Linked DNA regions of Homo sapiens: region 2 is linked to region 1. Evidence: promoter capture Hi-C in 16 types of primary human blood cells and fetal thymus (Javierre and others, 2016). All regions are on one chromosome and are shown on one strand. Each heading gives the region's core, a stretch centred on a gene start or on the middle of the fragment in contact. The rest is flanking DNA. Distances are from core to core; before and after follow the strand shown. Region 1 holds the start of HFE (homeostatic iron regulator). Region 2 holds the start of H4C9 (H4 clustered histone 9).

Region 1 (5,662 bases), core at 1,431-3,930:
CTGACTGGAATCTCAAACTTAACATGTCCAAATGCAGATCCTTGATTTACCCCAAACTGCTCTTTCCTCTGCCTTCACCATCTCAGAAATGGCATTGCCAATTACCCCACTGCTCAGGCCAATAAAATTAAAATAAAGAACAAAGTCAACTTTAACTCTTCTCTTTTTCAGGGGGTCAGGGGAGACAGGGTCTTGCTCTGTCACCTAGGCTGAAGTACAGTGGCACAGTCATGGCTCACTGCAGCCTCAACTTCCTGGGCTCAAGCAATACCCTCCACCTCAGCCTCCCGAGTAGCTAGGATCACAGGTGCATGCCACCACACCCAGCTAATTTTTGTATTTTTTGTAGAGAAGGGGTTTTGCTGTGTTGCCCAGGCTGGTCTTGAACTCCTGAGCTCAGGAATCTGCTCTCCTTGGCCTCCTCCTTGGCATGAGCTACTACACCCAGCCAATTCTTCTCTTTCTCTCACACAACATAGAATCCTTCAGCAACTTCCTTCAGAATATATTCAGGAGACAATGGTTTGTCACTCCCTTTTCTGTTCCCACCCAGCCCACTCCACTACCTCTTGCCTGGACTGTGTAACAGCTTCCTGGCTGGGCTCCCTGCTTTTACTGTTGCTCCCTTCATTCTGCTTTCCACATAGCAGCCAGAGCAATCTTTTAAAAGCCTGTGACAGATCACTGTTACTCCTTGGCTAGAATTCACACCACAGCCTACAGGCGCCTGCACAACCTTGTTTGTGGCTCCTCTTCTGAGCCCATTACCTACTTCTTGGCCTCTACTCCCCAGCACTACTTGTTTATTTTTTTCAACCCGAGCTTCTTAACCAGGAGTTTGTCTACTAGGTGACATGTGGCAAAGTTTAGAGACATTTTTGGTTGTCAAGACTGGGGGAGTGCTCCTAGCACCTAGTGAGTAGGGAGGACAGGATACTGCTAGACATCCTACATGCAGATGGTAGTCCCCCTTCCCACCCCCACGCCGCCCCCCCCCCCCACACACACACACATGAGTAGTGCTGAGAAAACCCGCTTTTTAATCCAACTTGCCAGGCCCACTCAGTTTGCCTGGGAAATACTGCTCCCAGTCAATATCATTCTTATTTCCTTCATGTCTCTGCTCAAGTGTCAGCCCCAGAGTGACTTGCCCTGACTTCTCTGCTTCTCACAACACCCATGATTTCCTGATGTTGTATATCTTTCTGCTCATTTGCTTATTGTCATCTCTCCCACTAGAATGCAAAATATCAAAGGGTAAAGACTTGTTTCCCTGCTCTCTCCCTTGGGGCTTGAACAGTGCAACACATGGCTGGGACTCATTTACACTTGTAAACAATGAATATTTCTGCTCAACATGAAATTTTATTATTCAACCTCTAATGCAGTGTGATGTTTAAGAATCATAGCTATGAAGTGGAGACATGAGCTCTGCCACCAAAGCCCAGTGTACCATTGAATAAATTTGCCAGGAAGCAGGCCGTGCCATGCCTCATTCTTGTCATGTGTAAAATGTGGATACACGTAGTACCAAAACTCAAAGTGCTGTGCTGAGGCCGGCGTGTGACCCACAGAACACTGTGCTACACTACAGGGCAAAATCACTGTCAACTAAGATTAGAAGCAGCTGTAGTACTTGAAATAACATCAGAAAACCAGATTATTTATGTTCTTTGTAACCTGAAAAGAGTTATATAATCTGAATTCCAGTTAACTTCTAGTAAAATAAACGTATTATTAGCTCCTACCTCCCTATGCCTAGTGAAAATCAAATAAGATCAGATATGAATGTAACTTAGAAGTGAGTGCATTGCTTACATGTTCATTATCAGTACTTTGTAGAGAGGCCTCTTAATTACACAGCACATTGCAAATCAATAAAGCCTAGCCGAAAAGAGAATTGTTCAGTTCAAACGTTCAAAACTAACATATACTTAATTTTCCAGGCAAAAGAACAATTGCCAAGAGTGGGGAAAGGCCCGAGGTAGGCCTCTCTCAGGAGCCTCCCACCCTAGAGACCTCCACCCCAGGTCTCACCAAAAGTGGGTGGAATGGTGAAGAATTCAGATCCCCAACGCCACTCTTTCGCGCCCCCACCGCCCAACGCATTCGTTCTGAGGTGGAAACCCCGTGCGGATCCTGCTGTGGGTTTGCTCAGCCTTCTCGGCAAGCACTCAGGGAAGAACTTCCTGTTTGGAGATGACTGGGGAAAAAACTGCACAGCTGACATTGGAAATAAACCCGAGTTCCAGGTTCAAGGAGCCCCAGGCTTAGCTCAGCTCAAGTGAGGAACTACGAGATTTATTTAAAAGCATTCTAGTTGGGGGAAGGGAGTGGGCGGTTCCAAAAGTCACTCCGCAGAGCCGGGACAGCCGGGGGAGGGGGCAGGTCCTGGGGCGAGGGACCCCTATCTGCAGTTCAGTGGTAGGCACTCCCTCACGGGGTCTGGACGCAGAAAGTAGGGAGAGGGGCTTGCGGATAGGGTTGAGCAGGTCCTCCAAAGTTAGCAAACTCCCAAGCGCAAAGAAAAAGCTAGTTTCGATTTTTCCACCCCCGCCGCGCCCCTAGTTCGCCCGCAGCCCTCGGACTCACGCAGCAAGCGCCCCTGCAGGACCGCGGTCTGCAAAAGCATCAGGAGGAGAAGCGCCGGCCTGGCTCGCGGGCCCATTTCCCCAGCTCTGGCCGCACGTCCCCGTTAAATCTCCGCTTCTTTTGGGGGGCGGGGAAACGGGGATGGCTCCAGAAGTCACCCTACAGCTATTGCCTAGGCTCAGGAGATGCCCAGTAAAACTTCCTGGTGAAAAGCAACAGGTCTTTCAGAACTTTAGTTCTCTCTCTCCTACAGCAGAAGGTACCTGCTTGTGAAACACTAGGTGATCCAGTGTCCCCCTTGGTTTTTAAATCCTGAAGGGGTGTTGTTGATTGGGGAAAGTAGCTTCGCAATGTTCTGATCTGAACTTTAGATATTTAAATATTTATGATTTTCAAAATTCAATCATACATTTAAAAATTTTATCTCAACCTTAGACCAACTTATGTCTTATTTGACTTAGAAATATAAAGCTTTTTCATTTTGTTTTTTGATTCAAATTAATTAAGTCATAACATTAACCAATTAGATCCTACTGAAACACCTTCCACAGCCTTCATAATTGAATTATCTGACAAGTGTTTCACAAACTTTACAGTATTGGGATTATCTGGAGAATGATTAAACATATTGAGGCCTGCTCCTAACCCCAGACACACTGATTTAATGGGTAATTGTTAGGTAGTTAGACATTAGCAGTTGGGAGGGGATGACAGAAGAGAGCGGAAAGGCTGTCACTAAGACAGCCACTGGCCCACCTAAATTCAGGCCCAAGACTACCCTAATGCCACCCTAAGGGATGGAGTTTATGATAAAGTCTGTGGCCAAAATATCCTGGAGAAAGAGAAAGGAGGGTACAGGTGGAAATTCCCTAAGGTGGCACATGCCCAACAACACAAAAGCCTGTCTTCAAGTTCACCCCAAGTTCATCATGCCATCATTATAATAGAATTTACATACAGTTTTGCCCCCCCATCCCTGGGAGGCTTTTCTTAACAAATTATAGGTAAGACCATGCACAGTTTAATTTTAGATTGTATAGCTATACACTTCAATCAAATAACATCATCCTGTCACTCAGATACAGCCCAAACCTCAACTCCTCCCCACAAACCCCATAAAAGCACCTTGAGCTCTGTAAAGAAGTGCTGAGTTCACTTCGCAGAAATAAGCCCGCTGTCCCTCAGAGTGTATTATTGTGCTTCAATAAACTTTGCTTTAAGCTTGCATTTTGGTGTTAGTTTGTAGTTCTTTGCTCACTATCACAAGAACTGAGATTGCTGGTTCAGAGCTCCGGCTATAATAATCTCCTCGGTTAAAGGATCCATCCCAATGCATAATTCCCAGTAACAGTATGGGATGCCACCTGGGCAATGGGATTTTAAAAGCTTTCCTTCTCCCTCAACGAAGTTTGGGAATTATTGCCTTAGACATTTCAAACAATATTAATAAATTTAATACACCTGATTTGCTCCAAACCTTTACATATCTAGCAAATTCAACAGGCATTATTTTTGTAAGCATGTATGCAAATTTTGGCAATTCAAGAAAATCAAACAGGATATCAGGGCCTCGACTGTAGGCAAACAGATACAATAACATTGGAAACATGTAGAATATTGATGATGGGCACATTGGGGCTGATAGTACTATTCCTTTTTTTCAATTTTTGGTAAGATATAATTAGCATACCATATAATTCATCTATGTAAAATGCAAAAATTGGCCCGGCTCAGTGGCTCACGCTTGTAATCCCAGCACTTTGGGCGGCCGAGGAAGGCAGATCACCTGAGATCAGGGGTTCGAGACCAGCCTGGCCAACATGGTGAAACCCCGTCTTTACTAAAAATACAAAAATTAGCCGGGCGTGATAGCAGGCAACTGTAATCCCAGCTACATTAGAGGCTGAGGCAGGAGAATCGCTTGAACCCGGGAGGCGTAGGTTGCAGTGAGCTAAGATCGTGCCATCACACTCCAGCATGGGAGACAAGAGCAAGACTTCATCTCAAAAAAAAAAAATTAGCTGGGTGTGGTGGCATGCACCTGTAATTCCAGCTACTCGGGAAGCTGAGACAGGAGAATCGCTTGAACCTGGGAGGCGGAGGTTGTGGTGAGCCGAGATCATGCCATTGCACTCCAGCCTGGGCAACAAGAGCGAAACTCCGTCTCAAAAATAAAATAAATAAAATAAAATGCAAAAATTAATGGATTTTAGTATATTTACAGAGATGTGCAACCATTACCAAAATTTTACATTTCTATCTCCCCAAAAAGAAACCATGTTCCCCTAATTCAGTACCCTTAATTCATCGCCTCCCAGATTCCTCCATTCTCCTCCTCCTCCCCTCCCAGCCCTAGACAATCTTTAATCTACTTTCTTTCTATTTGGAACATTTAGTATACATAGAGGCATATAATATATTGCTTTGCCGTGACTGGCTTCTTTCATTTAGCATAATGTTTTTATGTATGTTTTTCATGGACCAATAATATCTATTATAAGGACATACCACAACATATTTTATTTATTCATTCATCAGCCGATGGACATTGGTTTGTTTCTACTTTATGGCTATTGGGAATAGTGCTGTTATAAACATTTATGTACAAGTTTTTTTGTAGACTTATGTTTTGATTTCTTTTGGTTATATATCTAGAAGTGGGTTTGCTGGGTCATATGGTAACACTGTTTAACCTTTTGAGGAATTGCCACATTCTTTTCCAAAGTAAGCATTTTATCCTCCTATCAGCAGTGTATGAGAGTTCTGATTTCTCTCCATCTTTGCCTGGGTTTTTGAATCAGGGCCCCAGATAGAACAAAAATGTGGTTATTCAGTTGTTCCACCATCACTTGTTGAGAAGACTCTTTTTTCATTGAAGTGTTTTGGCACCCTTATCAAAAATCAATCTACCATAAATGTGAGAGTTTATTTCTGGAGTCTCAATTTTATCCCATTATGCTATAATCTATAATCCTATCTTTTTTTTTTTTTGACAGAGCCTCACTCTATTGCCCAGGTTGGAGTGCAGTGGCCCAATCCCGGCCACTGGCTCCTCCTCCCAGGTTCAAGC
Region 2 (5,662 bases), core at 2,088-4,587, 1.1 Mb before region 1:
ACGTCATACATGTACTTATCTTTCCAGTAACCATTTTTAAAAGTTAAAAAAAATTGTCTGGGCACAGTGGCTCAAGCCTGTAATCCCGGCACTTTGGGAGGCCGAGGCAGGCGGATGACCTGAGGTCAGGAGTTCAAGACCAGCCTGGCCAACATGTCTCTACTTAAAATACAAAAAAATTAGCCTGGCGTGGTAGTACGCACCTGTAATCCCAGCTACTTGGGAGGCGGAGGCAGGAGAATTGCTTGAACCCGGGAGGCGGAGGTTGCAGTGAGCCGAGATCACACCATTGTACTCCAGCCTGGGGGACGAAAGCGAGAGTTCGTCTCCAAAAAAAAAGTTAAAAAAGTTAATTTTAATAGTGTATCCTATTTGACAGAATATATCAAAAATATAGTTTCAGCATATAGTCAATACAGAATGTATTAAATATCTTGTATTCTTTTTTCATTTCAAATCTTCAAAATCTGGTGTGTATTTTACACTTTTATGGTATATCAAAATAAATTTTCGTGGGGAATTCTTGATCTGTAATTAGAATAAGATGATTCTGATTCATGTCCCTAAGGTGTTCCAAGTATACTTGAATGCTATCTAATTGAATCCAGCACCAGTTTTTAAAAGTAAACTAATTAAGATATAATTAAACACTTACTCCCTCAGTCACATGCCACATTGTAAGTGCTCAAACTCCATGCATGGCTAGTGCTATACCATAAGACACTCAATGAGCAGAACTTGACCTAAAACCCACTAGGGCACTATGCAAAGGATTACAATTCCTTCTGGCATCACCACCTACTACGGTTTTTCCTAAGGGAGTGTTTAATCCATTGGGCTTGGAACATGAAAAATGACAGGGAAGGACGTGTTACATTGCTGCAGATTTAACAATAACATAACTATATAGACACAAAATAAAAACGACTTTCTCAGGCCCACAAACTGACACATGAAAATAATTCATTCCAATTGGGATTAAGTGACAAGCAGGTTTTGCATCTGTCCTGACACATTTCCCCAAATTCTTCATTATAGGACTAGCACCACTACTACTCTCTGTGATGGCTTATCTATCTACTAAGAGAGTGTGATTAAGAATATTACAGGTTTGAGTGAGTGTATGTTCGGGGCAATTTGAATCTATGCTCCTGGAATAATAAAAATTAAAGAAAGACAAGTTTGGGTCATAAAATCTAACATTTGTGAATTGGTTATTTGATTTGGCCTCTTTTGCCATTTTAAAATAAGAGTAATAAAATCTATCTCACAAGAATATGAGATACGAGATAATCCATGTAAAGCACTTAACAATTTTCAACAAACTTTCAGTGTATCTTAGGCATTACTTTCCTCTTTCACCCTTTCTTTTGTCCCTTTTGTAATACTTTGAAAATTTTAGGTATTGTTAATCATTGCTTATTTAGAAAGTAAGATCAATCTTTTATCAGGTCTTCCCTTAGCTCGCTCTTGATGCTACTCTTACAGCGATTTCAGAAAAGCCTTACTATCCAATTCAAGCCAAATCAGGACATAAGCCGCCTAAATGTTTTTTGTTTTTTTTTTTTCCCCCAGATTGATGCCTGTAGCTCCTGGGGAAAGTGGAAGTCAGATAACTCCTTTATGAAAAGGCAGCATTCAAAAACTATAAAAAATATAAATCCAACATTATTAAAATTTTGCACATCCAAAGATATCACGAACAGTTAAAAACAAACCCACAAGGTGACAGAATATATTTGTCACATACTGACAAAAAGTTAAAACTCAAATATATAAAGAATATTTACAAATCAAATCTCATAAAATAAAAACTGTAGAGAATCTGAATAGACCATTCCGAGGAAAGCGGGAAAATCTCCAAATAGCCAAAAATCTCATTTAGAAAAACTCCGATTTCACATTAGGAAATGCTGATAAACAATAACTCTCAAGCACTGCTGGTGGAATATGGGAGTATAAATTTAAAATACTACCCTGGAAAGCAAATTGTTCATTTTTATTCATGTTGAATATGCACATTTACCAAATAATTCCACTTCCATGTAACCAGAAAATGCACAGCTGTATACAGTGCTGTTTTGTAATGAGGAAAAAAAATCAACAGAGAAATGAATAAAGTATTTACTGACACATTAGAAAACTAGATTAATGGTAAAAATAACCTAGAACTGCACATTTCAACACGGATATATTTCAAGAGCAAATGTAAAAATTCATGACGATTAAAATAGATTAGGGGTATGTGCATCTAAAGTTAAAACGCGTGGGAACAGTAAACAAATTTAGAATATCAGTTTATCCTAGAATATTAGTTAATTCTAGATAGGAAAAAGGGAGGGCTGTGCTACTGAGAAAGGGACATAAGGATTTTAGATGCACTTGAATAAGTGGTGTGGTCACCAGCGCATTTTGTATACTTGATATATTCCAGTATTTAAAAGGCAAACATATAAAGGAATATTATTACTAAGACTCTTAAGACTGCCCTACTGTTCTACAGTAGTAAAAGCATGGTCTGTCCCCCTCCCCCCCATGCAGAGCTCTGTGCCCGCCAAGTCCTCTTAAACCAGCCACCACGAAGTTTTCCTGGAGGTTCTAGCATTTAGTGGAGCCCATCAAACTCATTATCTCCTGAGACGTATTTGAAGGTCCAGAGGGAAGTTAATTATCTAGCCCGCCCCTATTTGGACCGCAGACCCCTTGGCTTTCTAAACTAATCCGAGCGGTAAACCGGCTGCAGGCAATTTCCAGGCAGCCGCCAGAAGTTACTGGCCAGCAGAGGCTCTTCTGGCCTTGGAAAAATCTCGGCCCAAGGTCACCTGTAGTCATCAGCCCATTTTCGGCGTCGAGTTAATCTTGTAAAATAGGATGACAGAACTCACTGACAATGGCCCTATTAAGAGACTCAGTTTGCAGTCATTTCAACTCTTTTGTTGAAAGCTTAGGGGCCCTAAAAAGGGCCTTTTTAGAGAATGACTGGGCTTCAAAATGCCATTTAGCCGCCGAAGCCATAGAGGGTGCGGCCCTGGCGCTTGAGCGCGTAGACCACGTCCATGGCGGTGACCGTCTTGCGCTTGGCGTGCTCCGTGTAGGTCACGGCGTCCCGGATCACGTTCTCCAGGAACACCTTCAACACTCCGCGGGTCTCCTCATAGATGAGGCCAGAAATGCGCTTCACGCCGCCGCGGCGAGCAAGGCGCCGAATGGCTGGCTTGGTGATACCCTGGATGTTGTCGCGCAGCACCTTGCGGTGGCGCTTGGCACCCCCTTTCCCCAGGCCCTTACCTCCTTTGCCGCGTCCTGACATTATCAAGTGGTCAGAGAACAAAGGTCTGCTGCCTGTGATGGCAGCTTTCTTTTATGGGTAACCTCTGCGGACCAGACTGAAAACCGGAAGAGCTTTGGCGGGAAGTCCCTCTGCATTGGGGGAGGGGACCTAAAAGGGAAACAGGCCTGCTGTGCTCTACTCCCTCTTGTTCTCCTTCAGTCCTTTTTAATCCTCAAGACCTAGGCTGTTTTTCCTTTTTTCATTTAACATGATTCCTGCCTCATAACAAAAATGTTAACATTATAGAAGATACATAAAGCAAAAAGAATGTTATCTCTGCATATATGCATGTTTTCCTTTAACATTATTTGTATGGAACTATGCTATTTTGTGGCATTTTTCTCCTTAATATACAATGGAAATATACTCCATATGCTAAATTCCTAGCAATAGAACAAGATAGACTCATAGAATTTAAAGATCGTTCAGGTATATTGCTAAGTTCTTTTCTACTTATTTTCATTTCTAGTGTTTGGGGTGGAGAATTATCCCCCCAAATATCGAGCTTGGTAATGGTGGGTGTTTTTGAAAATTGAGGGTTCTCAGAAACAAGTCTAAGAATCAAGGTCCCTCTAACTTTGTCCTGTTTCTCTTCCCCAAATACAGGGAGGGACTTTCTCTGGAATTTCCTGATATGACCAAGAAAGCTTCTTATCAAAAGAAGCACAATTGCCTTCGGTTACCTCATTATCTACTGCAGAAAAGAAGACGAGAATGCAACCATACCTAGATGGACTTTTCCACAAGCTAAAGCTGGCCTCTTGATCTCATTCAGATTCCAAAGAGAATCATTTACAAGTTAATTTCTGTCTCCTTGGTCCATTCCTTCTCTCTAATAATCATTTACTGTTCCTCAAAGAATTGTCTACATTACCCATCTCCTCTTTTGCCTCTGAGAAAGAGTATATAAGCTTCTGTACCCCACTGGGGGGTTGGGGTAATATTCTGTGGTCCTCAGCCCTGTACCTTAATAAATTTGTATGCCTTTTCTCTTATTAATCTTGTCAGTTGATTTTCAGTGAACTTTCAGAGGCCAAAAGGGAGGTTTTCTCTTGGCCCCTGCACCAGTAGCAGTTCCTGATATGCCTACAACCTTAACTAATGCTGGGTAGAACCATTTAAAGTAATCTAACTTTACTAATAAGGACTTGATTTCTTGTATATAGAAATAACTTTTCAAAAAGTTAATCAGTTGGTTAGTCAGCACAATACATTAACTATTTCCCCCACTGATTTGAGGAACTTATTATCATATACTGAATATATGAGCCACCGCACCCGGCCCATTTGGTGATTTTCTTGCTACTCTTTATTTTAATGAGTACCTTACAGCAGTGCTTGAAGTATTTTCAAAGTATTCCACTTAAATGTCATAAAGTAAATGAAGATAAACTTTTCATTAAAATACTTTAGAAATTTTTGCATTTATGTTGCAATAAAAGAAAACTTGCCATACACCTTTGGAAAACAAAAAAAAATTGATATGACTGGCTGTAACTTGCTGTAGCTGAATTCAGTATATGTTGTAAAGAGGGTAAGGTAGCATAGGTTAATTGAATACGTTAATCTAAGGGTAAATACAAATTAAAAATGAGAGGCTTAATTATCTGTTGAAAACAAAAGACTTCCCTTTCCTTTCCCATCACTTTCAAAATGTCTTTCTCTGTCCTTTTAAAATGTATGTAAATCCTTTTAATGGCTAAATAGGCCTTATAACTCAGAATATTTTCTCAATGCCTGGAGAGCCATCCCTTTGAAATGTTAATCATTAAAAAAGATAGTGGTCTGTCTCCCAGTTTCCAGCGAGAAAATGGGCTGAACTTTAGCTGTCACCTGACTTCGAATTGCAAAACCTATCCAATGTAGCCATACATAATAAGCAAGATTTCTTTCTGCTTTTGCAACCTCTTCATAAGGTTTCCTGTGATAAGCAACTCTCCCTGGTTTAATGCTTATTCAATAATAAAATTATTTCCTTTGTCTTCTTTGGGAGAAGATTTTAAAATTGTATTTCCCCAACATTAGTTAACAAGTATATTTCTCTACTTGAGCTTCTCACTAATCAGAAGCCTTTTTCTGTATCTGATTTCATGAGTTTTCGCATAGCAATTAGTGACAAGGATAGCAATGAATGGTAAAAGGTGGCAGAGCATGCCATCCCAAAATATGCCATTTTGGAATAAGAATTATTCTGAGATACAGGCAATTTTAAAAAGAGTAGGTACAAGAAAGGCACTTTGACCGTTCCCTTTTACCCCCTTAAAAGCAGGAATTAAAATTCCCCTGTGGAAGATGTCCTCCCTGTACCAAAAGGAAAAGAACATTTTCATC

What was found. Contacts are between HindIII fragments. The CHiCAGO score rates a contact against its expected background, and 5 or more counts as called.
Region 2: a contact is called between the fragment with the promoter of H4C9 here and the fragment with the promoter of HFE in region 1, in 2 of 17 cell types (naive B cells and total B cells). The highest score is 5.5, in naive B cells.

What each region holds. Positions count from the first base shown.
Region 1 is chr6:26,084,447-26,090,108 of GRCh38, reverse strand. It overlaps HFE (homeostatic iron regulator), which reads right to left and starts at 2,680. Exons shown (of 6, transcript NM_000410.4): 1 at 2,593-2,680. The coding sequence starts at 2,668. It also overlaps HFE-AS1. The HindIII fragment of the contact is 3,203 bases long and covers 1-3,065 here.
Region 2 is chr6:27,136,957-27,142,618 of GRCh38, reverse strand. H4C9 (H4 clustered histone 9) reads right to left here and starts at 3,337. Exons shown (of 1, transcript NM_003495.3): 1 at 2,941-3,337. The coding sequence starts at 3,310. The coding sequence ends at 2,999. It also overlaps a transcript of H2BC12 not described here. RefSeq lists enhancers at 2,197-2,788, 2,789-3,381, 3,144-3,523. The HindIII fragment of the contact is 1,035 bases long and covers 2,946-3,980 here.